7 separate regions of the Homo sapiens genome follow, and all the other regions are linked to region 1. Evidence: promoter capture Hi-C in 16 types of primary human blood cells and fetal thymus (Javierre and others, 2016). All regions are on one chromosome and are shown on one strand. The core of a region is centred on a gene start or on the middle of the fragment in contact, and the rest is flanking DNA. Distances in the headings are between cores, read along the strand shown.

Region 1 (4,174 bases), core at 468-2,967:
TGGGTAATATAGAATGGTGTTCTAAGAAGGGAAGAGAACTTTCAGAAAGCTTTCTACACTCCCGATCCCTCTTTCAGGCTGCATGTGCTCAATTATACACTTTTAAAGGCAAAAACCTCATCGAACAATAAAAAGAATGCGTTAGAGCTCCTACACTTTGAATTTATTTTGTGATGTATTTAATGTGGTTATAAAAGTCCTGGTAGTTCTCTCTGTGAACCGACAGCCTGACAGAGGAGAAGAGCCAGTGGGGCAGAGAAAAAGCCACAGAAGGGGAATCTCCACAACGATCCCTCAGTTAACACATAAAGAAGATAACCTAGTTACTGGAAAGCAGGAACACGAATATAAAAAGTATGGAAGAGTGGAGAAGTATTAAATGCACACAAATTTGTCTTTGCTACAGAACAAGCAATCAGCCTAGATCCTGAGGATAGCGATTAAAAGCAGAGACTGGGTGTTTGTACATCATTGGATGAATGAGAAGCAGCCAAGAAACAGGAAAAGACTAATTTTAATTACCAGAAAAACTGCAAGAGAAAGAACACAGGGCTAGTGGTAGACGGCTTCCAGCTACAGGCTGCCTGGCACTGTACTCTCCTTGCCAATTAGAGCCAGTCAGACCCCATCGGGGGATTCAGTGAGCAGAAGAATCAGCGTCAGTCCAGGGTCAGGCTGCTCTCAAACACACATGAAAAACGGACACCAGCGGACACGGGGTGCGACCCTAGACTCCCATGCAGTTTCTTATACAGACACAGAGATAGAAAGCAGTACGTGGGATTTCCTTTCCATTAAATACAGGTGCAAACCACATTCTCTATGGAAATATATTGCAAAGGAAATGTTATATAATTTATTTAACAAATACCCAATTACCATCAGCCCAATCGTGGGAATTGGAAAACGACTCAAAGACTGAGAGGAAAAAAAAAAAAAAAGTAGAGAGGAGGACTGGCAGAACAATGGCACTAAAGCTGCCACACTGTGGATTTACTACCTGTGTTATTTTTCCAATTACAGCCATTGTAATATAAAAATTCCGAAAAAAAGGTTGCTGAGACCATTCCTTCGCTTTTTTTTAGAACTGAGTCAACACCCCAAATCAAAGAGAAATATAAACAGGCAGAGCCTGATAGTCCTTAGATGAAACGCGTAAGTGCAGAAACAAAAGAGAAGTGCTTCCCATTCAGGACTTAAGAAAATTCTGCAAAGTGAAAAAGTCCACTCTCAAACCGACCTAAGTGAACGCGTCAGTCTGTGCTGCTGCTGTCAGAGGTGTGAGCCGGGGACTACAGGAATCAGAGTGAAGACAGGAGCGGAGGAAGGGACTCTCGCCTGGATCTCCCGTGCCGACTCCAGCCAGCACGTTTGCTTTGTAATCTATGAATGTTAAATACGGAGGGGTTGCAGAGCAGAAACGCTCGGGGAAGGGGGGCAGGTCCTCTGTACTTAGCAGGGAAGGAAAATGCCGGTTGACTAGTGAGACGAGTGGAGAAACACAGAGCACCCTCCGGGAGGCGCACAGTTCGTTAAGCCCAGGGACATGCTCAATGAACCTTTGCAGCAAGAGGCAGTGAGGCGCTGGACGCGGGCGCCGGTGACAGCGCGGGCGGCCGGGGAGGGGCGAGGGGCCGCCCCGGGAGGACACAGCCAGTCAGAGGCGCGGGGCGCAGGGCGCGCGGACGCATTGGAGGAAAACACGCGAGCCCCAAACACACCAGCCGCAGGAGGCGCCGCACCTACTTCCCAATATAACCAACTACGGCGTGGGGGAGCGGAACTGCGAGAAGGCGGCAGCCAAAGTGCCATTAAAGCTCGGGGCGGAGAGGATGCGTTACCTGGGTCCCGTCTGCTGCGAGAGGCAGGGCAAGCTGGAGGATTCCCTCTGAATGATTAAGAACTCCGCAATTCGCCTCTGCCACAGGCTGCAAAGGACCCGAGGAACCGCTCTCTCTGAACTGTGCTGATGGGCAGGAGGATGGGAGACAGGAATTGAGAGTCACAGAGGAAGGACAGTGGAGTCTGGCATCTTATTGGTAAGTGGCTGACATTCCTTTGCCAGTGACTGCGTTCTGTGATTGTGCACTTCATCTCCCAGCCACTTAGGATTTTTGACACACTCTGTTCTGCAAAGCCATCCTTTCTTGCCATGTTGCCAGAATGTAAAAACTGTAAGATGAAGCTTTTTTAAATAAAGGAAACAAAACACGACTTTATTTCCTGCTGGGATTTTATGGCAAAAAGTTGAAACAAGAGTAAATATAACCTATTTGTATATCTCCTAATGCCACCCAAAATAAGAGTAAGCAATTCCTACACGCAAATTGCAAATTGTAAGGCAATAAATGCCAGGATAAAGTGAGGATGTTTCTACAAAAGAAACTAAATGTTTGGAAAATAGGATGCCGTTCTCAGGTACTGAATGTATGCCTTATGTTTGAGCAATGAGTTTCCGAGACTAAATAATTGGGCATCTGGCATTGCAATAACTTGTTAAAATTCAGTAGGGATGCTCTATAAGTGGAGTTCTACAAAGTTCGTGAGACTGAGAAAAACTGTATCTTGGATTATGCTGAGCTTTTTTCTAAAGGTTGTATAGGATTGTGATAGATTAAAAAATTATGTTCAGACATCCTTACCATGTTTTGTAGGGAGATATACGGAAGAGAATATCAATTTGCACATACACAAACCTGAGAATTACTCTGATGACCTGAACAATAAGTTGTTTCAACTATATTTATTTGCGAAAGAACCAGAATCCACTAAATATTTTAGAATTATATTACTTTTAAATCTTAGAACTGTTCTCCCAAGAAAAATACAATTTCATGTGGTAATTTAAATGCAGGTGAGAAGCAAAAAACTTTTAAACTGTTGTATGTTCAATGCCTTACCTACATTTCATTCATTTGTTTCTTAATTTAAAAGAGAAAATCATTTAGAGGGTCAATACTTCTACTTTGATTCTCAATTACGACTGTGGAAATAAGGATGAAAGAAGTAGATGTTCATTAGAATACTAGCATTTAAAATTATAGACAAATAGTCAAATTTAAAAATTAATGCAGATATCATCGATTACTGTTGAATTGCAACAGAATTACAGAAGTACTTATGACCATTACAGGGAGCTTAAAGGAGTTCATTATGATTAATATTGTGACTCTCAGTATTTTAAAAAATAATGATTAGGTCATTAACTGTTTTTGAAAATGCCTGTAGTCAATTTTGAGCAATTCTCATGGTTGCTTGCATATTCTCCTATTTCATGCTCAAATTATTCTAAGTTAAGTGGGGACTAGTATGCTGAGTCTTAAACTTAACAGGCATAAGTTTACTCTGACTCTAATCGAAAAGAGGTATGAGTAAGAATATGTCATATAAAACTAATGATAACAAATTAAAGATATTACATAAAAAGATCATCTAAGTCCATTAAAGGGAAAAAGGCAAAAAAAATCAGAGTTAAAGTTATAAAAAGGGAAATTCAATATAAAGAATAGAATTTGACAAATAGCTGGAGTGTGAGGGAATGATATTAAAGCCTATCTGAAAATAGAAAGTCAGTGAAATGATTATTACAAGTGCCAGTGTTTTTGCTTAGGAATTGGTGTATCCTTTAAATTATTTAAAACTTCTGAAAATTGAGAAAGGAGGAGAAAAACTGCTAATTTTAATTTCTTTCTGATTCCATAGACAACTGAACAGAAAGTTAGATTCTTAAAAGTTATATAAAAATATAATCCCATAGATTAACTAAATGCCGGACTTTGTCTATAAGTTGTGAGGCACATGCACACCAAGGTGCTTTTGGAAATACATCCAAAAAGCTACAGTTGTGGAATTTTTAAATGAATAGCTGAAATACCTGAATGTTTCTCAAGGTGAGCAGTTAGTACTTCAAGTATTAGGTGGTCTGAAACAATTCTTAGTCAGGGAGCCAACCTGAAATCAAATCATGAATCTATACATAGAATATGTTTATGTAAGATGAATCATTAAAATTAGTAGCATGTAAAAATTTACTTCAATCTTATGTGTCCAATTAAGTAGCGCTATCTGTTAGAAATGTACCAGGTTTGGCTGATATGTATTTCTTTAAATGTCTCTTTTACTTCACAGTTTAGAAAATCTTGACCACTTTCAGGGTAGAGGTAGGAGTGTGATT
Region 2 (4,174 bases), core at 1,249-3,748, 1.9 Mb after region 1:
TTTTCTCTGTGTTAGCTCACGTAAATCCATAACAGCATTATTATGAAGTAGTTGTTAGATGAAGAAGCTAAGTTACAGAAAGATTGTTGGTTGCCTAAGGCCACAAACCTAAAGTGGCAGATAGGAACTCAGAACCCAAATCTGAAGTCATGGCATAGTACCACTTCCTCAGTGGACACTTAACTACAGAGATTAATCCTTCCTGATAATATTTGCTCTGGCCAAATAAAATGGACGATTAGAAAATTATATAGTGTAGTTATATTAATTCCTTAAAATTAGAAGAAAATAAGAGGTTTACCTTTGGTAAGCAGAGACAGAAAGTATAATAGCTTAACGAGTTGGAATAAGATGGAATTTGGCTCCACATCTTACAGCTGTGCAAATATGGCACACTTTACAAATGCTCTGCCTCAGGTTTTTATCTGTATGTTGAAGACAAAAATAATGTGTAGTTCCCAGGATCACGGTGAGGATCAACCAACACAGGTAATGCACAAAGCTCTTGTACCTGGTACTTCATTAGCGTCAATAAGGCACCAGCCAGTGTGTACCTCACCTGTACTATGATTGCTAGATATGAAAACAACATTTATGAATCCCTTTGTTAGTTGTGGCTTTAAAGCCCTGTGTGGCTTTTTTAAAAACACATTTTAATTTTAGCCTTCTAAATATACACCTAGAGTAAGTTTTGTAATAGCATTTTCATGTTACAGTATTCCTTTTAGAGTCCATTATAGTCTTTCTGTATTAATGTTTAAAGTTAATGCAGAAAATGAAAATAAATCATCATATATAAGCTAAAATATAGTGCTTTTGATGCTCTTCCCTTGGACTGCTAAATTCAATTTAAATTTTTTCGCTGAAGAAAATTTGCCTAATTTGCTAACATGTTATAGCTTGTTATTATCAAGACGTATACTATAAAATACTTTTCAGAGTCTCTAAATTTAAAAAGCTTAAATAATTTTGAGATTGAAATGCTACTGGCTAAGTCTTTTTTAAAAGTCCATCAGCTAGTATATAGATGAGCAGCTTTTGAAAGTTTAACATTTTGATGTGTTTTTCTTTTTCAACGTAATCAGTTAGCTTTAATTTAGTAAAAGTGAAAAAAATAAGGTTAGCATCATTGTTTTTCGAAACTCTGTAGGACTAAAGGTTAAATTTCTATCCTGTTTAAAATCTAAGGGCATTCATTCTTTAAAAATTTAACAACAAAACTTTTAAGTAAAAATAAAATCTGTAATGGTCCTTGGATAAATCTAAAGTTCAGGGTATTGTTATTGAAAATTAGAAATTTGTGATAGAACTTAGTGAACAGAATTTTGTAAAAGTAAGAAAACTGCATCCTATGTGTTTGGTAGAAATCAATCATGTAGCTTCTGCTGGGCTTTATCAGCTTGCTGGTGACAGTACTTTCTCTATTACAATTGAGCTGTAAAGATAAGCTGGCTATTGTCAATGCCTCTGTTCCTTTACCAGGAAAGTGTACCTCAGGCCTCTTCATCTGAATTCCATCCTCTTGAATGCTTACAAATCCATCTTTTCAGGAATTCCAATGACGCTTTTCAGTGCTGAGGCGATGCATGGCCACGGCTTTGTTTTATTAATCAGTGCACGTAATTGTCCATTCATTCATTTGTGCTTCTGTCCTCCCATTTTAAAAGTAGTCTTTTCCAGGCCAGCATTGACTGGCCACTTTCCATTCTTGGCTCTCTTTTTATCTTCAAGTTTCTCATTATTTATTTGATTCGATTTATATATGCTTTCGTTTTCATGCCATGAACTCCTTTGCACATCTATGCATTAGACTTAAAGCAATCTGTAGTCATTTTGAAGGTATCCTTTAAGATGTTTATCTCTAAGTTTCCTCCAGGCAGGGAATTGCAAAGACTACAGATTTAACTCACAGGCCTGACACTTTTACAGTGTGAAAATTGATGCCTTGACTTTGCCCTACTTTTCTAATCTTCTTAGAAGTTTAGATGGCCAAATATGAAGGATGGAACTATATAACATTTTGATTTCTTATAGTGCCTTATGGTGCTTTGTGTTTGGGAAGTATTTATTTTTATTTTTTAAAAACAACTTCAGGCCAGGCATGGTTGCTCACACCTGTAATCCCAGCAAGTTGAGAGGCCGAGGCGGGAGGATTGTTTGAGCCCAGGAGTTCAAAACCAGTCTTTGCAACATGGCAAAACCCCACCTCTACAAAAATTAGTTGGGCATGGTGTCATGCGCCTGTAGTCTTAGCTACTTGGGGGCTGAGGTGGGAGGATCACTTGAGCCTGGGAAGTCAAAACTGCAGTGAACTCTAATCATGCCACTATCCTCCAGCCTGGGTGAAAGGGTGAGACCTTGTCTCAAAAAAGAAAAAAAAAAGTCATAAAGATACAATTCACATACCATACAGACAACTCATTTAAACTATACAATTCAATGGAACTTTAGTATATTCACAGATCTGTGCAACGATCACCACAAAAAAATTTAAAGCATTTTCATCACCTTAAAAATAAACATCACATCCTTTAGGTATCATTCCCAGTATACCCCACAACCATTAATACTGAAACACCACTAATTATTTTCTGTCTCTATTAATTTGCCTACTCTGGGCCTTTCATACAAATGAAATTGTGTAATACGTGGCCCCTTTGGTGATTGACTTCTTTTACTCAGATGCGGTTTTCGAGGTTCATCCATCTGAAAGCATGCATCAATACTTCATTTCCCTTTAGGGCCAAATAACATTTTATTGTATGGATAGACCACATTTTGCTTATCCAAATATTAGTTGATAGGTACCTTTTCACTATTATGAATAATGTTATAAACCAGCGGTCCCCAACCTTTTTGGCACCAGAGACCAGTTTTATGGAAGACTATTTTTCCATGAAAAAATTGGTGAGGAGGGAAGGGTTTCAGGATGAACCTGTTCCACTTCAGATCATCAGGCATTAGTTAGATTCTCATAAGGAGCAGGCAACCTAGATCCCTCGCAGGCACAGTTCACAATAGGCCTCACTCTCCTATGAGAATCTAATGCCAGCACTGATCTGATAGGAGGCAGAGCTCACCCAGGTCTCACCTCCTGCCATGCAGTTGGGTTCCTAACCGGCCACAAATGACCTTTACTGGCCTGCAGCCCAGGGATTGGGGACCCCTATTATAAACGTTCATGTACAAATTTTTGTGTAGATACATGTTTTTCTCTCTCTTGAGGAATTACTGAGTCATGTGGTAACTGTATGTTTCACCATCTGACGAACTACCAAAATATCTGCACCCCTTGACACTCCCACCAGTGATATATGAGGGATACAGTTTCTCCATGTCCCTCACACACACTTGCTATTATCTCACTTTTTGAGTCTAGCTATCCTAGAGAGCTGAACTTAGATTTCACTGTGGTTTTGATTTCGATTTCTCTGATGACTAATAAGAATCTTTCAAATGCTTTTTGACCATTCATATATTTTCTTTCAAGAAATGCCTATTCAATTTCTTTGCCTATTTTTAAACTAGGTTATTTGTCTTTTTATTATTTAATTATGAGTTGTTTATATATTCTGCATACAAGCCCCTTATGGGATAAATGATTTTTGTAAATATATTCTCCCATTCTGTGAGTTTTCTTTCAATTTTCATGACAGTGTACATGAAGCACGAGTTTTTAATTTTGAATATTTGTTCCTTTTCTGTCTTGTAATGGGGTTATTTTAAAAGATTATTTATCTGTTAAGTATGGTATCAGTTTTTCCAACTGGTTGGGTTATTGGAGCGACAAGTAATTTGGTTCTATACCCTTGGGAATAATAAAGTGCTATATGAGATTTCGTCAGTGATAAAAGGAACTTTCTTAGTATTCAAACCTATTCCGTCTATCTAGAAGTTTGTAGTTGTTATTACGGTTACTGTTATTATTTTAAAGGTCAAATTTACTTTAGGGTAAACTGAAACCATAGTTTTTCCCTCACATCCCAGCCATTCAGGCAGATTCACCAAAGAAAATGATATGTGGGAAGTGCAATTCTTAAAGCTTTTCAGGCTGTCCTGTTCAGTTCCTTTCATTTCACATCTTGGAATTTTGTAGAGGATGAAATGAACAAGTATATGTTCAAACCGATAAAAACGTTTAACTTTGCTGCCATCTAGAGGCAGGTATTTCATA
Region 3 (4,174 bases), core at 689-3,188, 1.9 Mb before region 1:
CTCTGACATGCGAAGGTAGGACTCTCGCTGCCTTGATAGGGTCATTGGGCAAGCTTTGGGTCTGCAAGGAGCTGTTGCTTGCCTTCTTGGGTCAATCCAGTGTAGCCATGTTGCTGCATTAGGTTCCACAGAGGTGGGAGTCTTCTTGCCTAATTGCCTCTTATATTGTCATAGAATAATGCTAGTTGCATATATAATCAATATTTTTTTTCTGTGTGGAGAATTACTCTTTTATCATTATATTATGTCCCCTTTAGCCCTAATAATTTTCCATGTTCTAAAGTGATATTTGTCTGATTAATATAGCCACTTTGACTTTATTAGTTTTAGCATGGCCTATCAATTTCCATCTCTTTAGTTTTAGCCTATCAAATCAATTATTTCCATTGTGGCTATTTTTAATTTCCAGTATTTTCTTTTGATTATTTCTTAGGCTATCATCTCTATGTTTATATTACCCACTTATTCTTTTATGTTGTCTACTATTTTCATTGGAACCTTTTTTTTATTATACTTTAAGTTTTAGGGTACATGTGCACAACGTGCAGGTTTGTTACATATGTATACATTTGCCATGTTGGTGTGCTGCACCCATTAACTCGTCATTTAACATTAGGTATATCTCCTAATGCTATCCCTCCCCCCTCCCCCCACCCCAAAACAGGCCCCAGTGTGTGATGTTCCCCTTCCTGTGTCCATGTGTTCTCATTGTTCAATTCCCACCTATGAGTGAGAACATGTGGTGTTTGGATTTTTGTCCTTGCGATAGTTTGCTGAGAATGATGATTTCCAGCTTCATCCATGTCCCTACAAAGGACATGAACTCATCATTTTTTATGACTTCATAGTATTCCATGGTGTATATGTGCCACATTTTCTTAATCCAACCTATCATTGTTGGACATTTGGGTTGTTTTCAAGTCTTTGCTATTGTGAATAGTGCCGCAATAAACATATGTGTGCATGTGTCTTTATAGCAGCATGATTTATAATCCTTTGGGTATATACCCAGTAATGGGATGGCTGGGTCAAATGGTATTTCTAGTTCTAGATCCCTGAGGAATCGCCACACTGACTTCCACAGTGGTTGAACTAGTTTACAGTGCCACCAACAGTGTAAAAGTATTCCTATTTCTCCACATCCTCTCCAGCACCTGTTGTTTCCTGACTTTTTAATGATCGCCATTCTAACTGGTGTGAGATGGTATCTCATTGTGGTTTTGATTTGCATTTCTCTGATGGTCAGTGATGATGAGCATTTTTTCATGTGTCTTTTGACTGCATAAATGTCTTCTTTTGAGAAGTGTCTGTTCATATCCTTCGCCCACTTGCAAAATTGATAGACCGTTAGCAAGACTAATGGAGCCCTTAACATAGTAACAATCGTTATTTTTAATTTCCTGTCTGGTAATTCAAAAAAAACCTGTGCTATATGTGAGTCTGGTTCGGATACTTGCTTTCTTTCTTTTTACTGTGTTTTTTCTTGCCTTTTGACATGTCTTATAATTTCTTGTTGGATGTACTATGTAATATGGTGAGTAATAGGAACTGAGGTAAATAGGTTTTCAGCATATGGTTGTATACTCTGACAAGTAGATGGTCTATGCTTAATGTTTGCTGTAGTTGTAGATACCAAAGTGTCTTTTTGTTTCTCCTGATGTCTTTGAGTTTTCCTAAAATCTTTTCCTTACATAAAGCCTGCCCTCTCTAGATCTTTCAGCTGTAATCCAATGTTATATAACTGCAGATTTTTTGACACCATGGTAAGAGGTAGTGCAATGAGAAGCATTCTAAATCTTATGATTTACACTTAGTCTTTTAGTGACCCATCTCCCTAGCATGTGACCTTTACAAGGGTTTCTCCACTTCCTTTTTTCCCCCTTAGGTGATACAGGAAGATGAGGGAGTGACAGTTGAGCACTTCCCCTTCTTTCAGGTCAGATAAGGCTCTGGTAAAGTCTTCCTCTGTGCTGAGCAGGTTTTAGGTATGGAGAGAATATTCTAGCCGTATGCCCTCCAAATATGGATATTATGACCATATTTCAAAATGTTTACTATCCATCTACTTCTGCCAGAAACAGGAGAAGTTTTTCTTAGCTGTTTACCCTGAAAACCCGGTGAGATTCCTTGATATAAAACCCATGAAATTGTGCTTTGCCTCCACCCAAGGACTGCATTCTCCAAAAGTTTCTCACTTTTGTGTTAGTCCACATTTCACTTCTAGCAATTAATCAAAGCTACCATTTGTATTCCTGCTAATATATTGCTCTAGCATCTTTTGCTCCAGGTAAGCTGATCTCAACTGTAATTCTCTGTATTTCCCTGTCTCTTCAGGTTCTGAGGTGATGTTTTGGCCTGTGACCTAAATTTTCTGATAAGTCTAAAAAAACCTCATTGAGTTTTAGGTTTTTTCAGCTTTTGTCCTATAGTATGGAGTCACAGTTCCATGTTCTGTATATGTTATAGCTGAAATCAGAAGCTGCTCTTTTTTTTATACTGAGCCAAAATCCATCTTGTAGCTTCTAGATATTGGCCTAACATTGACTTTTAGATCTTCAAAAAACAACACCTAACATATTTTTGTTCATAAATTTTAATTGAACCCTAAAAGAAAAATAATTCAGCATTGCAATGTACTTACTAGATCTCCAATACTCTGTTAGAAATTATGTTATTTCTTCATATCAACTTTTCAAGGTAGATAACTTTTATAGATATGGAAACAGATATTTGAAGAAGTTGAATAACTTACTCAACATAACAGCTAGAAAGTGGCAGAAATAGAATTAGACCCTTGGCCACGTTCTTCCCAAACCCTAGGTTCTTCTTATTGCAACATGCTGCCCTCACCTCCAGCAGTTACCTCAATGTTGGGAGGGGATGGGGCAGAAGATATGACATAGGATTGCTTACCTGCTATTTCTAAGAGATATGAGAAAGGCACCTTGTTTTAAATGTATCTAGGATTTCACTTTTATTCAGGAATGGCAAGCAAACAGATTATGAGGCTACTGCCATTGAGAAGATAATTTGTTACTCACAGTTCCCAAGAGAAGACGGTATACCATGTGATGCCATGCATAGCCACCTGGGAAACCACCAGAGTTGGTCATGAAGTAAGAGGAGTGAGAGGATGGACCAGAGCTTTTATTGTATTATTTTTGTGGGAAGAAGTAAGTGAGGCAGGGTAGGTATGCTGAGCCAGCTTAGAAGGAGATACTTTGAATTACTATAGATGATTCTGGGCTTTGGAGGTAGTCCTTAGATGTTTGGTACCTGATCCTGTGGTGATGTAGGAAAGGGGCATACTGTCCCTGACTGCAAAACCTGATAAAGGGACATATAAAGGGAGTATGGACTCAGGATTGGTCAGTTTGCTTGCCAAAAAGATGCTCACGGACACCATGTTTGCCATCTCTAGGAAATGGCTAATTCTAGGAGGGGCAGTCCCTGCCTGGATCTGCAAGACCTCAAGATGTCAAAGTATCATAAAACATTAAAAAAATTAAAGAAGAACCATGATTGATGCATTCCCCCAGCTAGCTCCATGAAAACAAATATATTTCAAATTTTTACTATTATTCTGATTTTGATTTAAATGGTTTATGCTTTATTTCCTCTGATTTAGTCTTCCTAATTCAGCTACATTTGACTCATGGGATTCACCTAATCGCTTGTCTTACCTTTTCCTAGATTGGGAGCCGATACAGGCATACTTTCTTTTCCTGTGCTTCACTTTATGTAGATATTGCTTTAAAAAAATTGTTGAATCTGAGGATGCAGTAAGGAGGGCCAACTATACAGTATTTGAATTTGGCTTGATGGAAGCTTGGGTTTGGCTGTAGAAAAATATGAAAATAAGAAAAAAGCAGAGTAATCAAGGCAAGAAATGATAATTATAGAGAAATATACATATTTTTGTGTGTTTAGAGAAATATCTATATAAAATTGGAATATTGGCATAAAGTCAGGATGTGAAGGGTACTCTGTATTTGTAGCTATTTATATACATGGCTTACGCCCAGTGCTTTGGATATAAGCATTCCTAGCCCATTCATCTCTGTAAACCAAAGCACCTAGAAGTGACTGACATGTCCTAGACAGACACTTAGAGCTGGAAGTCTTTTAAAATTTGGAAAACATTGTGACATTGTATATAGTAATATAATTCTCA
Region 4 (4,174 bases), core at 578-3,077, 1.8 Mb before region 1:
CATGATGTATAAATACCAAATTTTAATATTAAAAATAAGTATTGCCAAGCAGTTTGAATGATGCTCCTGAAACACATGAGAATATATGAAGGGAAAAAGAAAAAACACTCTCATATAATGCTAATGGAAGTGTAAATTAGTATAAGCTTTCTGGAAATCAACTTGACAACATGTATCAAGAGATATCACTTCTAAGAACCTAAACTACAGAAGTAATCCCAAATCAGACATATATTTATGTACAAAGATATTTCAACATTAGAACAGTTAAGTAAATCATGGTATACATATCCTGCAAACAGTTTTAATAATTTATGAAAAAATTTATTGTAAAGTTGTGCTTACAAATGTAGTCTTGGCCTTCTACATGAGATACCTGGAAGGACGAGATGAAGATACATTTGGGTATTTGTGAAGCTTGACATTTGGCGGTAGAACTGTGAGAAAATTTTTCTCCGAGGTTTAAAATGTTTTACTGAACTTTTGAGATAATTACAATAATTAAGTATTGCTTTTATAAATTGGGAAAAATAATAAAGCAATATTAAACATTAAAAGTTTGTGTTAAGATATACATATTTTCAGATTCTCAAGGAAAGCACATCTTTGTTTTAATTATTGGCCAGGTAACCGTGAGACAATGACAACTAAATTTTTTTTGCAGCAAGTCTCATGTTTAGTGAATTTGCCCATGGGTGTGGATGAGGCAATGTCACTTTTTTTTTTTTTTTTTTTTTTTTTAAGAAAACAACATATTCTTACCATGTGATCCAGCAGTTATGTTCCTTGGTATTTACCAAAAAGAACTGAAAACAAAACACACAAAACCTGAACATGTCACACAAAAACCTGAACATGGTTGTTTATAGAATGGTTGTTATACTCATTTTTGACACAACTTGGAAGCAACCAAAATGTTGTTGAGTAAGTGAATGGGTAAATTGTGGTTCATGCAGACAATGGAGCAGTATTCAGTGCTAAAGTGAAATGAACCATCGAGCCATGAAAAACATGGAGGAATCTTAAATTCACATTAGTAAGTGAAAGACTAATCCTGAAAAGCTACATACTATATAATTCCAGCTATATGGCATGACATTCTGGGAAAAGGTAAAACTATGGTAAAAAAGTAAAAAAAGATTAGTAGTTGCCAAGAGTTGGGGGTAGGGAGGAATACATAGAGCACAGAGGGGTGTTTTTTTGCTCTTTTTTTTTTTTGTTTTGGACGGAGTCTCACTCTGTGGCCCAGGCTGCAGTGCAGTGGTGTGATCTCAGCTCACTGCAAGCTCCGCCTTCCAGGTTCACGCCATTCTCCTGCCTCAGCCTCCCGAGTAGCTGGGACTACAGGCGCCCGCTACCACGCCCGGCTAATTTTTCGTATTTTTAGTAGAGATGGGGTTTCACCTTGTTAGCCAGGATGGTCTCGATCTCCTGACCTCCTGATCCGCTCGCCTCGGCCTCCCAAAGTGCTGGGATTACAGGCCTGAGCCACCTCGCCTGGCCTCACAGATGGTTTTAGAGCAATTGAAATTATAATAGTGGATACAAGAATACATGTCATTATAGAATACCAAGAGTGAGCCCTAATGTAAACTATGGGGCTCTGGGTGGTAATGATGTGTTAATGTAGGTTCATCAATTGTAACATGTACCACTGTGGTGAGGGATGTTGATAATGGGAGGCTATGCATATGTGGGAGTAGTGCATATATGGGAACTCCGTACTTTCTGCTCAATTGTTCTGTGAACCTAAAACTGCTTTAAAAAATTTAAAAAGTGTATCTATATGTACTAAGTGATTTAACACATTTTTAATGTAATATTAATTAGGATTTATTAGGCATTTTACTTATATATTCTATTTATTGTAATCTCTCTTGATTCCCTTTTTATTTCATCAATAATACTTTCTTTGGCTGATTTAGGAATTGGTAATTTTATTTTTATTTCTTAGGTTGTTGCTGTTAAAGACCTATATTCATGCTTATTTTTTGCAATTACCTTCTTAAATACATCATTTTCTATATACTTCCCCAACAAGACAAGTACTTTTATCCTTCCTTATGTCCCCCATTTCACCCCTCCATTTCCAGTCACCAAAAGTTATTTGTATTAAATTTTATTTTGTGTATATATTATCATTTCTGTTTCTTTGATTTTACCTTTATTATGAACAATAATAAATTTTATCAAAACACTTGAATACCCTTAATTCTCATATCTCCAGCATTTCCTCCTAAAAGTGTTTCATTTCATGCAGCAAATTATTTGTGACTTTCTGTGTGTGCAAATATTTTTATTGCAATCCACACTTGATTGAAAATTTAGTTCAAAGTTATTTTTCTTCAGTACAAAAGAGTTTCATTTTTTTCTTATCAAGGGTCACTAATGAAAACTTTGATGTCACTCTGATTTTTTTAAACATTTTATTGTGGTATAATGTATGTGAACAGCTACATGTATTTAATGTATGAAACTTGATGAGTTTGGGAATAAGTGTACCACCGAGAAATTATCACCACTAAGGCCACAGACATTTCCATTACCTTTGAAAGTTTCTTCCTTCCCCCCATTATTTTTATTATTACTAGTCTCCTTTCACACTGATTCTTGTTCTATTAGAAGTAACCTGCTTTTTCTCTTTGTATTTATAATATTCTCATTTTCTTTCTTCTTAAAATGTTCCATAATCTAAATTTGAATTTTTTTTTCTCCTTAACAGTTCAATCTCGAGGTGTTTTTATTTTAATACTGGCTTTATTTCCACGCTTTCAGCTCTTTTCTCATATTTTTAAAATCTTCTCTCCTTTTCTTATGCCTACCTAGCATATATACTAACGGTTTCAATTCTACCACATCTCTTAGTTGTCATTATATATATCCGTATCTCTATCTATCTGTATAGATAGAAATAGATTTTTCCCTTCATTCTTTTTTCTGATGTCTTCTAGGATAGAGATTCAATCTAGTCTTTTAATTCACTGTTCCCTGCCCCCTCCAAGCTGGATTTCTCTGCATACTTACCAATGTATTCCTTATTTCAATTAATATATTTTACACCCAATTTATAGTTTATAATTTGTTTTTCTTGTATCATGCCAATATCCTATCTTTTTTGATATTTACTATAAATATTCTAAATGATTCCTCTGTTACATTAGTTCTGTTTTAAATAGTGTATGTTATCTAGTTTCCTTTTGAAGTACGGTAGTCTTCAAATGTATAGGGTGGTGTTATTTAAGCTTCCAAATTCGTGTTTCTCTAGTATATCAGCTGCTCTGTTAGGTTATGTGCATTGAGGAAGGAGCTATGTAAGGCCAGGTCTAGCTCTGTGTCAATCCTGGTGAATTAAGGATAAGGCAGAAGACTCATACAAAATCTATTTTGATCACCTCCATTTGCTGTGCCTCATACAAAAATAATCTGGGAAGGTATTAAAAATTCAAGCTTTAGGCAACAGCTTCATATGAGGAGGCAGCTTGCATAGTTTATAAGAGGATGGGGGAATATGAAGGAATCAGCGCTCAAGGCCAGCTGGTGAGTCCATACCTACTTTCACTAGCTCCTCATCCCTACTTCCTTTCATTCTGTCCTTATTCCGAGAACATCTGTGCTGGAAGATTCAGTCTGGCACAGCTGATTCCTGTAATGAAGGGACAAAGACTGTCTCAAGGTAACATGGGATGGCAAGGTAGAATGGGGGATAAGAAAAACGTAAAAGCTTTTCTCCAACCAATCCTCTTACTGTTAGCTTATCCACTCTCTGCCCATCCTGCTTCCACTTTCCCCTTATTCCCCCTTGACATCCACAATACTTAAACAGTGCCTTTGGACTCCTCAAGACATGTCAGGGATTTCTGTTTTTATTTATATTCTTAAATTTATTTCCTGAAATCCATTTTTTCCTCTATTTTCTATAGTTTTTCCAGAGTTAATTTTGGAGGGGGTAGCTTGTGGCCTTGCTAGTTCACCATCTTGGTGGTAATCAACGTGCCTTGAAATATTTCAGGCCCTGTTTCTGTGTTGATGTCACTGAATACCTGCTAGTTTCTGCTCCTGGGTGTGGCTTTTGGCATCTATACCCCATCCCAACTCCCCAACTCGACCTGTTCCTGACATCAGCTCACATCAATATCACAAGGTCTCCAAGGATAATATTTACAAAATACAATAA
Region 5 (4,174 bases), core at 753-3,252, 1.8 Mb before region 1:
CCCTGGGGATTTCTCTCTCACTATTTGCCTGTATTCAGAAATCTCTCCTGGCCCGCAGTCAGTCCCTGGACCAGGCAAGCTGCCTCAAGCCCTTTCCTTACTTCTGGTGCTTCCTGTCTTTTCTCTGGTGATCATGTTGTTCTCTCCTCTCAAGTTTACTTTGTGTACAGGGAAGGGTTGAAGAGGGCAACTTGAAATTAACTCCAGCTCTTGGGATTACAAGAAACCTAATTCATTTTAACTGCTGAAATCTAGATCTGCCAACACTGGGCAAATACAAGAGCTACTTACTCCAGGCTTCAGTTTTAACTTCCCGCTACCATCTAAAATATGTTTTGGTATGTATAAATTTATTCATTTTAAACTAAACTTTTATTTGATAACCTGAAACTTGTATGTGTCTGATCATTGATGTATAACTTCCAGAATCCTCCATTATATCTGCTTTCCTTAAGATTGTCATAGTTTTCTGTCTGCCTGGAATTTTGGAACCGATCTTCCAGCCCCATAGAACTTTCTTCCCTCCCACATTTCTAAACTTGATTTAATATCTTATGCATCTCTCAGCCTTTAACTCAAAAATCTGCTTCCTAGGAAGTCTTTGGTGCCTCTCAGATCAAATGATGTCTCCCTTATATGTGTTATCACTGATCTACTTTTCCTTTGTCTTTATTTTCACACCATAATTAAGTATTTATGTACGTTTATCTTCAACCTACAATGTAAGCTTCACTGGGGCAAGGTGCAGATATTGTTCTTCTTATCCTTAAGGCCTAGTTGTTTTTTTGAGCTGTTAGTATGTGCTTAATAAATAAATGTTGAATGAATTAATGAGAAAGGCACAATTTTATAGAACGCAAGAGTCATTGTTCAGTTACTTTAAGAAAATGCTTGCCTGAAGGTAGGAAAGTAGACATGCCACTAGGGCAGTATTTTCTTTTGAAGTGCTTGATTATGTAAAGTGATGAAAAATAGAAATTTGAAAGGATTGGGTTAATACTTTCCAGAGATGTATATACAAGCACAGAGTTAGTCTTAAATTGATTTTCATGTATATAAAGTTGCTGGGAGTTGTCTAGTCACCTCTGTGATCATGGTAATTAGGTGACAGATGGAGTCTTGGTCTATATAAATCTCAGGATAAGCCCAGTTGATCCATGGACCTATCCTGTGGTTATTTTCTATGCCCCAGAATGTAGAGTAGGAATAGATACTAAATTACAGAATCTCCAGTTGATTTCTTAATGTATCAGTGGGGTACCATGGTAGGAAGGATCTCTGGAATTGTCACCTGCCATGCCTTAACTGTCATCTTAGCCATATTGAAACCAAAGGCAATAATGCATCCCTGGGGGAATTTCAGAGAATATTCTTCCACCAGCAGTGTCAAAACTGCATGGGTAGTGAGATTCTGGCAACTATTGTCATTGTTTCAGTTATTTATTTTATTTCATTTTGCTTCTTTTTATTACTTCTCTTTTGCTCCTTTTTTGTTTTTAATAATTTCAACTTTTATTTTAGATATGGGGGTACATGTGCAAATTTGTTACATGGGTATATTGAATGATGCTGAGGTTTGGGGTACAGATCACATCACCCAGGTAATGAGTACAGTATCTAACAGGTAGTTTAGAACCCATGTCCACCTCTTTCCTTCAGCCCTCTAGTAGTCCATAGTGCATTGCCCCAGTGAAACTTACAATATCTATTGTTCCCTTCTGGGGCTTGTGAGAAAGTCAAATAACTCTTGGAAAATGACTAGGTAATTTTAAATTCATTCAATCAATTATACTAGTCACAGCTACTATTCCATACTGATATCAACAAAATACTGTTATGTAGCTATTGATCTAAGAAATGATTTATACTCTGTGCAATCAGTAAAGACATCAGAAACAGTTTGTTTTTATCTCTTCAAGAATAACAGTACACTAATACTGTCTTAGCTCAGGGTTATATCAACTGTCATGCCTTCTGTGATGACTTAGCCTGAAGAAGTTTGATCATCTTGTTATCCTTCAGAATGTCACCTTTTTCTAATATATTGATGCTCTTATGCAAACTGAACCTGGCGAGCAGGAAACTGGAAACATCCTTGATACCCTAGAAAACAGAGTACTAGAATTTGTGAGAAATGTCAGGGGTATGCCATATATTTGGAGATTCTAGGGGTCCAGTTTTCTGGGCACGTCATAAGATCCCCTTTAAAGTGAAAGACAAGTTGCTGCTTTTTGAGCCACCCATTAGGTTGAAAAGAGAAATGTTTAGATTTTAGAGGGAGGAGTATAATCCTCTAATTCATTTACCAGATAGTCTATAATACTGCCAGTTTTAGCAGCGCCAGAGCAAAAAAAGGATTTGTATCACATCCAGGCTGTGATGCAAGCACCTATACCACTTGGGTCATGTGTTCCAGCAGCCTAGATTGTGCCTTAGCAGTCTATACCATAACGAGATACAGTCTGAAGCCTTCAGCAACTCCCAATAGAAGAATCACAGTGAAGACCCACAAATGTTGAAATAAGGTCATGGTATATTCTATATTCTGCTGACAAAAATTTTACATTTAGCAAAATAGTTTCTATCTTGCAATTGCATCAAGATAGAGCCATAGTGCCTGATCATAGAAAATTAAATGAATGTGAAACCCAAGATGCCCAATATTAAATGTGAATTTGATCCACTCAATCAGAAAGTTGGACATAGAAAGATAAACTTTCTATTAAATGAAAGTTGTATGTTATGAATGTACCCAAGGAAGTCTTGAAGGCACAAGCAAGTTGGATACAAATATTGCTCATATTCATATGTTACCTGCTCCCTGCTCTAAACACTTCACTACTTCTCTTTATACCTAAATGTGTGGCCTCATGTGGAGTTTCCTGTGTTGAGTTAACAGGGGGCCTAGTTAACCATGTGTAGACTTGGCATATAAATAAGTCTGCATGGCATTTAGCCCTGCTGGAAGTACATAGTGCTGCACTACAACCTCACTTACAGGTAACCCTAATAGTATGAAAAGGAAACTTGCCAGTGAGAAGAACTTTGGGCAAAGTATCTGGGTTTCCACCGTCTAGAATGAGAGATGGCTTGGAGTGTAGGGATCCTCACGGACTCATGAAAAGTGATTAATGGGTTGCCCAATTTCCCGAGGACTTGGAAAGGACAGCCTGAAGTCTGGTTACAAGGGAGTTTTCCAGACAGGAATTTACAGAATAGGTAGACTATGAGTATATCTGTATTCATGTAAATTCCCACTGAAGATTTTCCAGGGCAGAGAAGCTTATCAACAATCAGGTTAAAAAGCTGACCCATTCTCTACACGTAAGCAAGCCTCTTGTAGCGGTCTGCAATGGGCTTTCACTGATGACATTCACAGGTTGTTTCCTGGGCTCCATTACTCAAAAGCATATGGATTGTTAGAACTATAGAAAGGTTTGTTGGTATCAATTACAGAGCAAGCTGCAGAATAACAACTAATTATATTGGTGTGCCTTCTCAAAGGGTATAATGTATGCCTTAAAGCCAGTTTAAGGTGTGACCTTTTGCAAATTTCCCAGTTTTCAAGGGTCCAGAACCTAAAGGTTAAGGTGTGGTGGCTCTTCTCATAATTATACTCAACAATCTACTAAAATTACTTTTCTTCCTATTCCCACAGTCTTGGACTTGGTGTGTTTGGACATAAAAGTGCTCCAGAAAAACTAATTCCTCTAGAAACATAGTTTGATTATTATCAGTTAGAAGCTGAGAGTGCACCCTGACAATTTTATTCTACTAAATTGGCATGCTTCTGAATCATTATACTGGGCAAGATGCTTGATACCCATAACCTAGAGTAAATTAGATTATGGCTGCATGATATAGCATGTAGGACTATGTCTGGAACCTGGAGAATCACTTGGGTGTAGCTCAGTGTTCCCATTTCAATAATAGTAATTAATAAAAAAACAGAAGTAGTCTCATGAAGAAAGGTCCTACGGGGACTTAGAAGTTGTAATGATAGAAGTTTGAGTTATTCCCCCAGGAAAGAAAAACACAAACAAAAACTTCACAACGGCCAGGCGCGGTGGCTCACACCTGTAATTCCAGCACTTTGGGAGGCCGAGGTGGGCGGATCACGAGGTCAGGAGATCGAGACCATCCTGGCTAAGACGGTGAAACCCCGCCTCTACTA
Region 6 (4,174 bases), core at 445-2,944, 1.8 Mb before region 1:
GATTTTATGAAGAAAATACAGTTTTTCCACTAAGCATGCAGCTGTCCATTGATTTTTGGTAGATTCCCTAAATCAAATTGAAGAATTTTGTTTATATTCATAGTTTGTTGAGTATTCTCATAATGGAGAGGTGTTGGATTTTGTTAAATGCTACTTGTGGTTCTATTGCAATAATTTTATTCGTCCTTTATTGCATTAACATGTTGCATACATTAATAGATTTTTACATGTTAAATCAGTATTGCATTTGTGGGATAAATTTTACTTTGTTACAATGTCTAGTCTCTTATATATGGATGGATCTGGTGAGCTAGCTTTTTGTTAAGAAATTTTGCCTCTCTCTAGATAGATAGATGGATAGATAGATAGACAGAGATATAGATATAGTTCTCCTATTTTCTTTTCCTTTTATTTCTTTTTTTGGTTTTGTATCGGGGTAATACTGGACTCAGAGAATTGGGAGTATACACTTCTCCTGCTCCATTTTTTTGTAAGAGTCTGTAAAAAGATGGTATTAATTCTTTAAATGTTAAAATTCACCATTGAAGTAAACGGGCCTGAGCTTTTGTATTTTCTCTGTGAGTAGTTTATTTTTCTCTAAATATCAATTCAATTACTTTAAACATTGTTAAGTCTATATGAAGTTTCTATTTCCTTATGAGTCAGTGTTAGCAATTTGTTTTTCTAGTGTTTTGTTCTTTCATCTAAATTTTCTAATTTATTAGCACATAATTTTCATAGTATTCCCTGACAATACTTTATTATTTAAGTCTAGTAGTGTTCTCTTTCATTCCTGATTTTAGTAATTTGAGCATTCTCGCTTCTTTCAGTCTAGCTAAATATTTATAATTATTAAGCTATTCAATAAAACAACTTTTTGATTTGTTTATTCGTTATTGTTTTTATAGTCTGTATTTTATTAATTTCAAAACTATTTGCTTTTTTAATCTTTCTTTGAGTAGAATTTGATCTTTTTTTCCTAGTGTCTTGAGGTGAAATGTTACCTTATTGATTTCAGATCTTTCCCTGTTTAAAATAATAGGCACTTACAACTACAGATTTCTAAGTACTTGCTTTAACTGCGTCTGATAAGCTCTGGTATGTTTTGTCTTCATTTAATTTATATCCAAAGCACTTTCTAATTTCCCTTGTGATTTCTTTTTTGATTATTTGGTTATTTAGGAGTATGTTGTTTAATTTTCATGTATTTGTGAATTTCCCAAATTTCTTTGTGTTATTGACTTCTAATTTTATTCAGTTGTGGCTGCAGAATATGCTTTGTAGAATTTCAATTACTTTAATTTATTGAGGCTTATTTTATGGCCTAACACATACTCTACCCTGGAGAATGTTTCATGTGTACTATGCTGTTGTTGGGTGCAGTGTTCTACAGATGTCTGTTACATCTGGTTGGTATATAAGCTTGTCCACATCTTTTATTTCCTTATTGATTCTTCTGAGTAGCAGTAGTTGTTTTCTGTTTGTTTAGTGACTGTCTGGAATATTTTAGTGAAGTCTATTTGTCCCAAGGCATGAAGTTCCTGAAGTCGCTCCTCAGAGGTTATAGCTCTGGACATGTTCAAAGTCACCCTGGGATGACAGTAGTTTCAGCAGAGCTATCTTTAACTGTTTCTTACACTGATCACATCGAGTTGCTGATCAGGTACTCTGTTTTCAAAAATTCCATGGGGCATATATTGTTCTATAGACTGTTCCAATTAAATTGAGGACCTTTGCCCAGATAGTATTTGGGGCCACTATATGAGGTTTTTATGACTCCAGGATTGCTTTTCTTAGCTGTCTCATTCCCCTCGTCTCTCCTAAAGCGGCTTGAGTATGACTGATCTTATTCTTCTCATGAAGTTACCTCCATGTAATTGCTTTATTAACACCTTCAATGTTTTGGAAAGCACCGTTAGGCTTGAACTTCGCCAGACTCTACTTAAGTGAAGTCAGTTCTTTTCAGTAAAGCTTCAGAGTTCTCTGTTGAGACTTGCCTCTGCCCCTGGACAAAATTTCTGAACCAAGTTCCTAGAGCTGCAGTCCAGGACTTTGGACCACTTTTCGCTGAGTTACCCCTGCTGGAAAGGCATGTACACCCCTAGTTTTCTAGGCATGCTTCTTTTCTACAGATTAGGTGGGGAAACTCTTCCTTATAAATGAGTTGGTATGAAAGCCATTGGGGCCTGGTGTTCTCAGCATGTTGTCCGTAAGCTAAGGCCCCCACCCATGAGTGGGGCTCAGTGGATAAAGCGAGCCACTGACCTCTTCAGTGAACTTGCCTGGAATTTAGCCTCTGCAAAGTAGCTGAAAGGAGTATTAAAAAAAAAAATTCCACTGGCTTGCTCCTCCTCAGAAGATATCATACCCTTCCACTAGGGGGATAGTTGTGTTCTTAGCTACATTTGCCTGAGGGAAGTTTCCATCACATTATGCTGAGAGTGCAGAGAGAGAGGTCATCGTTCAAATGCCAGTCTCATTGTTCTTACTGAGTTTTAGTAGGTTTTCTTAAATAAATGTGTCGTCTTTGGCTGTATGCCTTTAGAATAATTCCAGAGACATTACTTTTAATTATTATTACCAGTTATGTTCATTTCACTGAGTGGCCCATTCAGCTTCTCATAATACCATTCCAGAAATAGAATTTCCTTATATTTGTTTGACAGTCATACGATATCTGTAAACATGTAACATATTATTTGACCAGGCTAGTTTGGAGGATAGTATACATTATGGTGTAATAGTCTACTTACTATCTGAGTTAATGCAAATGTTTTGTTTCCTGGTATATTGTGCAGAAAAATTATGATATCTTGACTGCAGAATTTCAAAGAAAAAGGTAAATTTTTTTTTGCAAATTTTGAATGTCTGAGATAGTTGTATGCAATGTGTAATACACACACTTACAATATTAGACATATACATACATGTATAATCTACCTTTATACAGCATGCCCACACACACTCATACACACACACAAATACACATACATAGTCTTTGAGTTAATATCATTCAACTAAGCACTTTAGGTCAGACCTGTATTGATTCTTTAAGTGGCTAGGTTCTAAAAGATGATACCTTCTTTAGTTTCTGCTTCAACTAACAGAAGTCAGGTTTAATTACTTGGAACCACAGAGTCCTGACTGACTGATATGAGTATCAAATAGTCACAAATTATCTAGACTGCAAATATCATTTCCTTGTGATTTACAGATAAGAGAAGCCTGAACTCTAACTTCTAATGAATATACTTAAAAAGCTTGTTTATATTTGACCATTTTTTGTTTCTTAATGAATGTTTATGCTTCAAAAATCTATCCTCATTTTCATCTATCACAATGGCCAATACCATGGTTCCAGAGCCTTGCAAAGCATGTCTATGGTCTTGTAGATTCATTTGTCTAATCTACTGCTGCTGATACATTAACATTTCCCCCAACTATGGATAAGTCCTATTCCTTGATTCGTCAAATATATCCAACACCAATATATAATAAGCCAAATTCTTCTAAAGCCTTGGAGAAACAGAAATAAATTTTCATGAAGCAAGAAAAAGAAAATCCCTGAGAACTCTGTTAATGTATCTTATAATTCATAAGCTGCAAAATAAGTAAAACAAATAAAAATATATGGACTATACCTTGAGCATTCCTAGAATTCAGAGAAATACTGCTACCTTCAAATTACCTATAAAGTAGAGAAATAAATACACCTAATTACAACAAAGTGGCCACAATCATTTCAAGCCAATGTGTCTAGAGAGTATAATAAGGGATATAAGAGTCTAATAAAAAGAGGAGGGGGACATGGAACAACAAGATAAAACCCTTAATGCTTGAAATAAAAATCTAATAGTATAAACCTAATGAGCACACTTTTTATAATTAGTAGGAAATGGTTCAAAATTGAGGGGGAATAGAAGTATTGTTTTTAAGGAGGCGTGAGTTCTGTATTTGTAAACAGAGTAAGCATGATTAAACTTGGAGACATAGCATTGTAGGGAGATAAGATAAAATAAAAATCAGAATTCTAAAGAGGTAAAAGGACAAACTAAAAAGAAAACATACCTAATTCTATCTCCACCCAATATCTTTCATTAAAGAAAATGGTTCCTTTAAGCAAGGGAAGAAGGCACATGTAAGTTAGAAATTCTTTTCACAAATGCTTAAATAT
Region 7 (4,174 bases), core at 518-3,017, 1.6 Mb before region 1:
TTCTGGCCAAGGCAATCAGGAAACAGAAAGAAATAAAGCATATTCAAATAGGAAGAGAGGAAGTCATATTATCTCTGTTTGCAGATAACATGATTGTATATTTAGAAAAACCCATCGTCTCAGCCCAAAAACTCCTTAAGCTGATAAGCAACTTGAGCAAAGTCTCAGGATACAAAATCAGTGTGCAAAAATCACAAGATTCCTATACACCAACAATAGACAAGCAGAGAACCAAATCATGAGTGAACTCACATTCACAATTGCAACAAAAAGAATAAAATACCTAGGAATACAACTTACAAGAGATGCGAAGTGCCTTTTTAAGAAGAACTACAAACAACTACTCAAGGAAATAAGAGAGGACATAAACAAATGGAAAAACATTCCATGTTCATGGATAAGAAGAATCAGGATCATGAAAATGGCCATATAGCCCAAAGAAATTTATAGATTTAATGCTATTCCCATCAAGCTACCATTGACTTTATTTGCAGAATTGGAAAAAACTACTTTAAATTTCATATGGAGCCAAAAAAGAGCCTGTATAGCCAAGATAATCCTAAGCAAAAAAGAACAATGCTGGAGGCATCATGCTACCTGATTTCAAACTATACTACAAGGCTACAGTAACCAAAACAGCATGGTACTGGTACCAAAACAGATATATAGACCAATGGAACAGAACAGAGACCTCAGAAATAACACCACACATCTACAACCATCTGATCTTTGACAGCGCGACAAAAACTAGCAATGGGGAAAAGATTCCCTATTTAATAAATGGTTCTGGGAAAACTGGCTAGCCACATGAGGAAAACTGAAACTGGACCCCTTCCTTACACTTTATACAAAAATTAACTCAAGATGGATTAAATACTTAAATGTAAAACCCAAAACCATAAGATTCCTAGAAGAAAACCTAGGCAATACCATTCAGGACATAGGAATGGACAACAGCTTCATGACTAAAACACCAAAAGCAATGGCAACAAAAGCCAAAGTTGACAAATGGGATCTAATTAAACTAAACAGCTTCTGCACAGCAAAAGAAACTATCATCAGATTGAATAGGCAACATACAGAATGGGAGAAAATTTTTGCAATCTACCCATCTGAAAAAGGTCTAATATCCAGAACGTACAAAGAACTTAAATAAATTTACAAGAAAAAAAAATAAATGACCTCATCAAAAAGTGGGTGAAGGATATGAACAGACACTTCTCCAAAGAAGACATTTATGCAGCCAACGAACATATGAAAAAAAGCTTATCATTAGTCAGTAGAGAAATGCAATCAAAACCACGAGATACCATCTCATGCCAGTTACAATAGTGACTATTAAAAAGTCAGGAAACAACAGATGCTGGTGAGGCTGCAGAGAAATAGGAACACTTTTACGCTGTTGGTGGGAGTGCAAATTAGTTCAGCCATTGTGGAAGACAGTGTGGCGATTCCTCAAGGATCTAGAACCAGAAATACCATTTGACCCAATAATCCCATTATCCTCTGGGTACCAATGATGGACTAGATAAAGAAAATGAGGCACATATACACCATGGAATACTATGCAGCCATAAAAAAGAATGAGTTTATGTCCTTTGCAGAGACATGGATGTAGCCGGAAACCATCATTCTCAGAAAAATAACACAGAACAGAAAAACCAAACACCGCATGTTCTCACTCATAAGTAGGAGTTGATGAGGACACATGAACGCAGGCAGGGGTACACCACACACCGGGGCCTGTTGGCAGAGGTCGGGGGTGGGGTTGGGCAGCAAGAGGAAGGAGAGCATTAGGACAAATATCTAATGCATGCAAGGCTTAAAACCTAGATGACAAGTTGATAGGTACAGCAAACCACCATGGCACACGTATACCTGTGGAACAAATTTGCACATTCTGCACATGTATCCCAGAACTTAACGTAAAATAAAAACAAAAAAATAAAAGAAATAAAAGTCTCCCTGATTTGCTATCAGAGTTCAGTTTTTTAGCTCTTTTGCTACCATTTATTTCTGAATAAAATAAAGTGTAAGAATGATTTAATATTTTTCTGTGCCCTTACACACACATGCACACATACTTACAAACACATACATATATATGTATATAAATTTTAAGTGGAAAAGTTACATAAGTACAGGATTTTTTTGGTTGTTACTTTTCTTTCAACCTGAGTATGACTAATTTTGACTTCCTCCATCTGCTTTAGTTTACCCATGTCAGCAATCCAAGATAGATTATTAAAAATATATATTTAGCTGTGTCTAAGCTTCTGATTAATATGTATTGAAATTTAGATCTCAATTTATATTTTTGAATGTCTATCTTAGTTCTTTTCAAATCTGCCTGTTAATTTTTTATAATATCTTATCCTTTAGCCATATGTTTTATTAACTTATTTTACCACTAAACATACTAAAATACATATTTAATAGTCTCTATCAAAGCAAATGCCCTTAATCAGGTTGTTTTGATAGATTGCTAACTTTAATTTATTTGTGAGACAGAACTATAGAGAATTTCCCTTAATTTATGGTGTAAATAGAGTATATATGACCTCTCTATAAGCATGTATATATATAAACATCTCTATAGGTATACACATGTACACACACATATACATATATATAAAATATCATACAGCATTTTCTATACTTTTTTTGGAGGTTAATTTCAGCATATACATTTGGTAATACTGAGAGAAATGAGAGTCCAAATTTTATTTTTCAACAGTTTCCTCCTCTTCTCCATAATTCACCAACTAATGCCATCATACAGAAATTTGTATACTGTTTCATTTATTAATATAAAACAAATAGACAAGCAAATGACCATGGAGTAAGCAACAGGCCCTATTGGAGACTGAGTAGACAGAGTCTATTACACAACTTTATGACATGTCAAATACAGGCCCACGTGAGTGGAGTAGGCAGTACCTAATTTCTAAAATCTTAAAAGACAGGCTACTATTTATGGGACATACAGACACTAACATAATATTTAAAATAAGAAAGATATTTGATTTAATTCAAATGAAACTATTTGTATTCATCCATGGCTGACCTGATACTTTTCAGAACAAATAAAGTTATAGTGTCCTTGATATGGTGGATCTTTATAAAATAGTAGTATATAATACAGCACTTGTTTTATGGTATTATAATAATTTGGTTAATACTAATTATATGCTCTAAATTTAATCTGCTTAGAATTATATTTCTGAAAATAAGATCTTAAGTTACATTTTCTGCTTTTTCAAACTTATAGTAGTTTCCTATGTAGTAGGAATCAATGATCATTAAAAAGTTTTATACTAATTATATTATGTGGATTTGATGTGATATCACACATAACATGTAGCTAGAACAGATGTCTCTGTAGTACTTTTATATATTCCTTTCAGTTAAATGTAGTCTCAAGCAGAAATAAAAAGTAGAAAATTTAAATAACACTCTTTGAACAATCCAAAACAACAATAACAATTGTCTCTAATCTTTGGTTTTTCATGACTTGAATGACTTTCAGGCTTACAAATAAGTCAGTCAAGACTTCATTTCATTTTCTATTCTCGTCAGCTAAGAACTGAAATAATTCTAGTTGTTAAATTATGGAATTTATTTTAAATAATTTTTATTTTCCAATCAAATTTATACAAGTTTATGCCACCAGTAAATCTTGGTATCCCTAGAAAAGCCTTCATCATCTGAGTAGAAAATATTTTCTTTAATGAGCTTAGTTGAGTACACAGTTCTGCCCAATTAAAAATTCTTGTAAGTGACTAATTTCTACATAAAATGGGTGTTTATTTTTTTTCCCAGTGCCAAGCACAGTTTGTGGAGGCATAAGACACTCAATGAATATTTGTTTAATGAAAATATAAAAAGAAACATTCAAACCTTGTCCACTCATACCTTCAAACACTCTTCTTGTAGCTTTCATAATATCATAGGTTTTTTCCTCTTCCCTCACTGGCTCTTTCAATCCCACTTGAAATACTATGCAATTTTAGCTATTCAAGCACACTATATTTATGTACGTTAGCACAATTGAGTCGATGATATAAATCAGTATTTTTAAAATTGTATTCTACATAACAGTAAGATTTCTCACAAGTGTGTTTGGGGGTTCCAAGGAACTGAGACAGAAAACTCTGGACTCTACAACTCTAAT

What was found. Contacts are between HindIII fragments. The CHiCAGO score rates a contact against its expected background, and 5 or more counts as called.
Region 2: a fragment that was not itself captured here is called in contact with the fragment with the promoter of CNTN5 in region 1 in 2 of 17 cell types (naive B cells and endothelial precursors); the score reaches 5.2 in naive B cells.
Region 3: a contact is called between a fragment that was not itself captured here and the fragment with the promoter of CNTN5 in region 1, in 2 of 17 cell types (M2 macrophages and endothelial precursors). The highest score is 6.1, in M2 macrophages.
Region 4: a contact is called between a fragment that was not itself captured here and the fragment with the promoter of CNTN5 in region 1, in 1 of 17 cell types (endothelial precursors). The highest score is 6.0, in endothelial precursors.
Region 5: a contact is called between a fragment that was not itself captured here and the fragment with the promoter of CNTN5 in region 1, in 1 of 17 cell types (endothelial precursors). The highest score is 5.9, in endothelial precursors.
Region 6: a fragment that was not itself captured here is called in contact with the fragment with the promoter of CNTN5 in region 1 in 1 of 17 cell types (erythroblasts); the score reaches 6.9 in erythroblasts.
Region 7: a fragment that was not itself captured here is called in contact with the fragment with the promoter of CNTN5 in region 1 in 2 of 17 cell types (erythroblasts and endothelial precursors); the score reaches 6.1 in erythroblasts.

Annotation. Positions count from the first base shown.
Region 1 is chr11:99,019,232-99,023,405 of GRCh38, forward strand. It overlaps CNTN5 (contactin 5), which reads left to right and starts at 1,718. Exons shown (of 25, transcript NM_014361.4): 1 at 1,718-2,039. RefSeq lists a silencer at 4,095-4,174. The HindIII fragment of the contact is 2,136 bases long and covers 48-2,183 here.
Region 2 is chr11:100,926,221-100,930,394 of GRCh38, forward strand. All of the region lies in intron 6 of ARHGAP42 (Rho GTPase activating protein 42), which reads left to right. Among named protein-coding and RNA genes, the nearest start is that of SNORD13I, 6.0 kb to the right of the region's middle. The HindIII fragment of the contact is 3,084 bases long and covers 957-4,040 here.
Region 3 is chr11:97,141,770-97,145,943 of GRCh38, forward strand. No RefSeq gene overlaps it. Among named protein-coding and RNA genes, the nearest start is that of LINC02553, 120 kb to the right of the region's middle. The HindIII fragment of the contact is 3,775 bases long and covers 52-3,826 here.
Region 4 is chr11:97,213,633-97,217,806 of GRCh38, forward strand. No RefSeq gene overlaps it. Among named protein-coding and RNA genes, the nearest start is that of LINC02553, 44 kb to the right of the region's middle. The HindIII fragment of the contact is 2,825 bases long and covers 416-3,240 here.
Region 5 is chr11:97,248,973-97,253,146 of GRCh38, forward strand. The region is part of intron 1 of LINC02553 (long intergenic non-protein coding RNA 2553); the gene reads right to left. Among named protein-coding and RNA genes, the nearest start is that of LINC02553, 8.6 kb to the right of the region's middle. The HindIII fragment of the contact is 2,555 bases long and covers 726-3,280 here.
Region 6 is chr11:97,267,344-97,271,517 of GRCh38, forward strand. It overlaps LOC105369450 (a long non-coding RNA gene), which reads right to left. Exons shown (of 4, transcript XR_007062859.1): 3 at 4,069-4,113; 4 at 3,610-3,688. Among named protein-coding and RNA genes, the nearest start is that of LINC02553, 9.8 kb to the left of the region's middle. The HindIII fragment of the contact is 549 bases long and covers 1,421-1,969 here.
Region 7 is chr11:97,439,206-97,443,379 of GRCh38, forward strand. No RefSeq gene overlaps it. Among named protein-coding and RNA genes, the nearest start is that of LINC02553, 180 kb to the left of the region's middle. The HindIII fragment of the contact is 1,008 bases long and covers 1,264-2,271 here.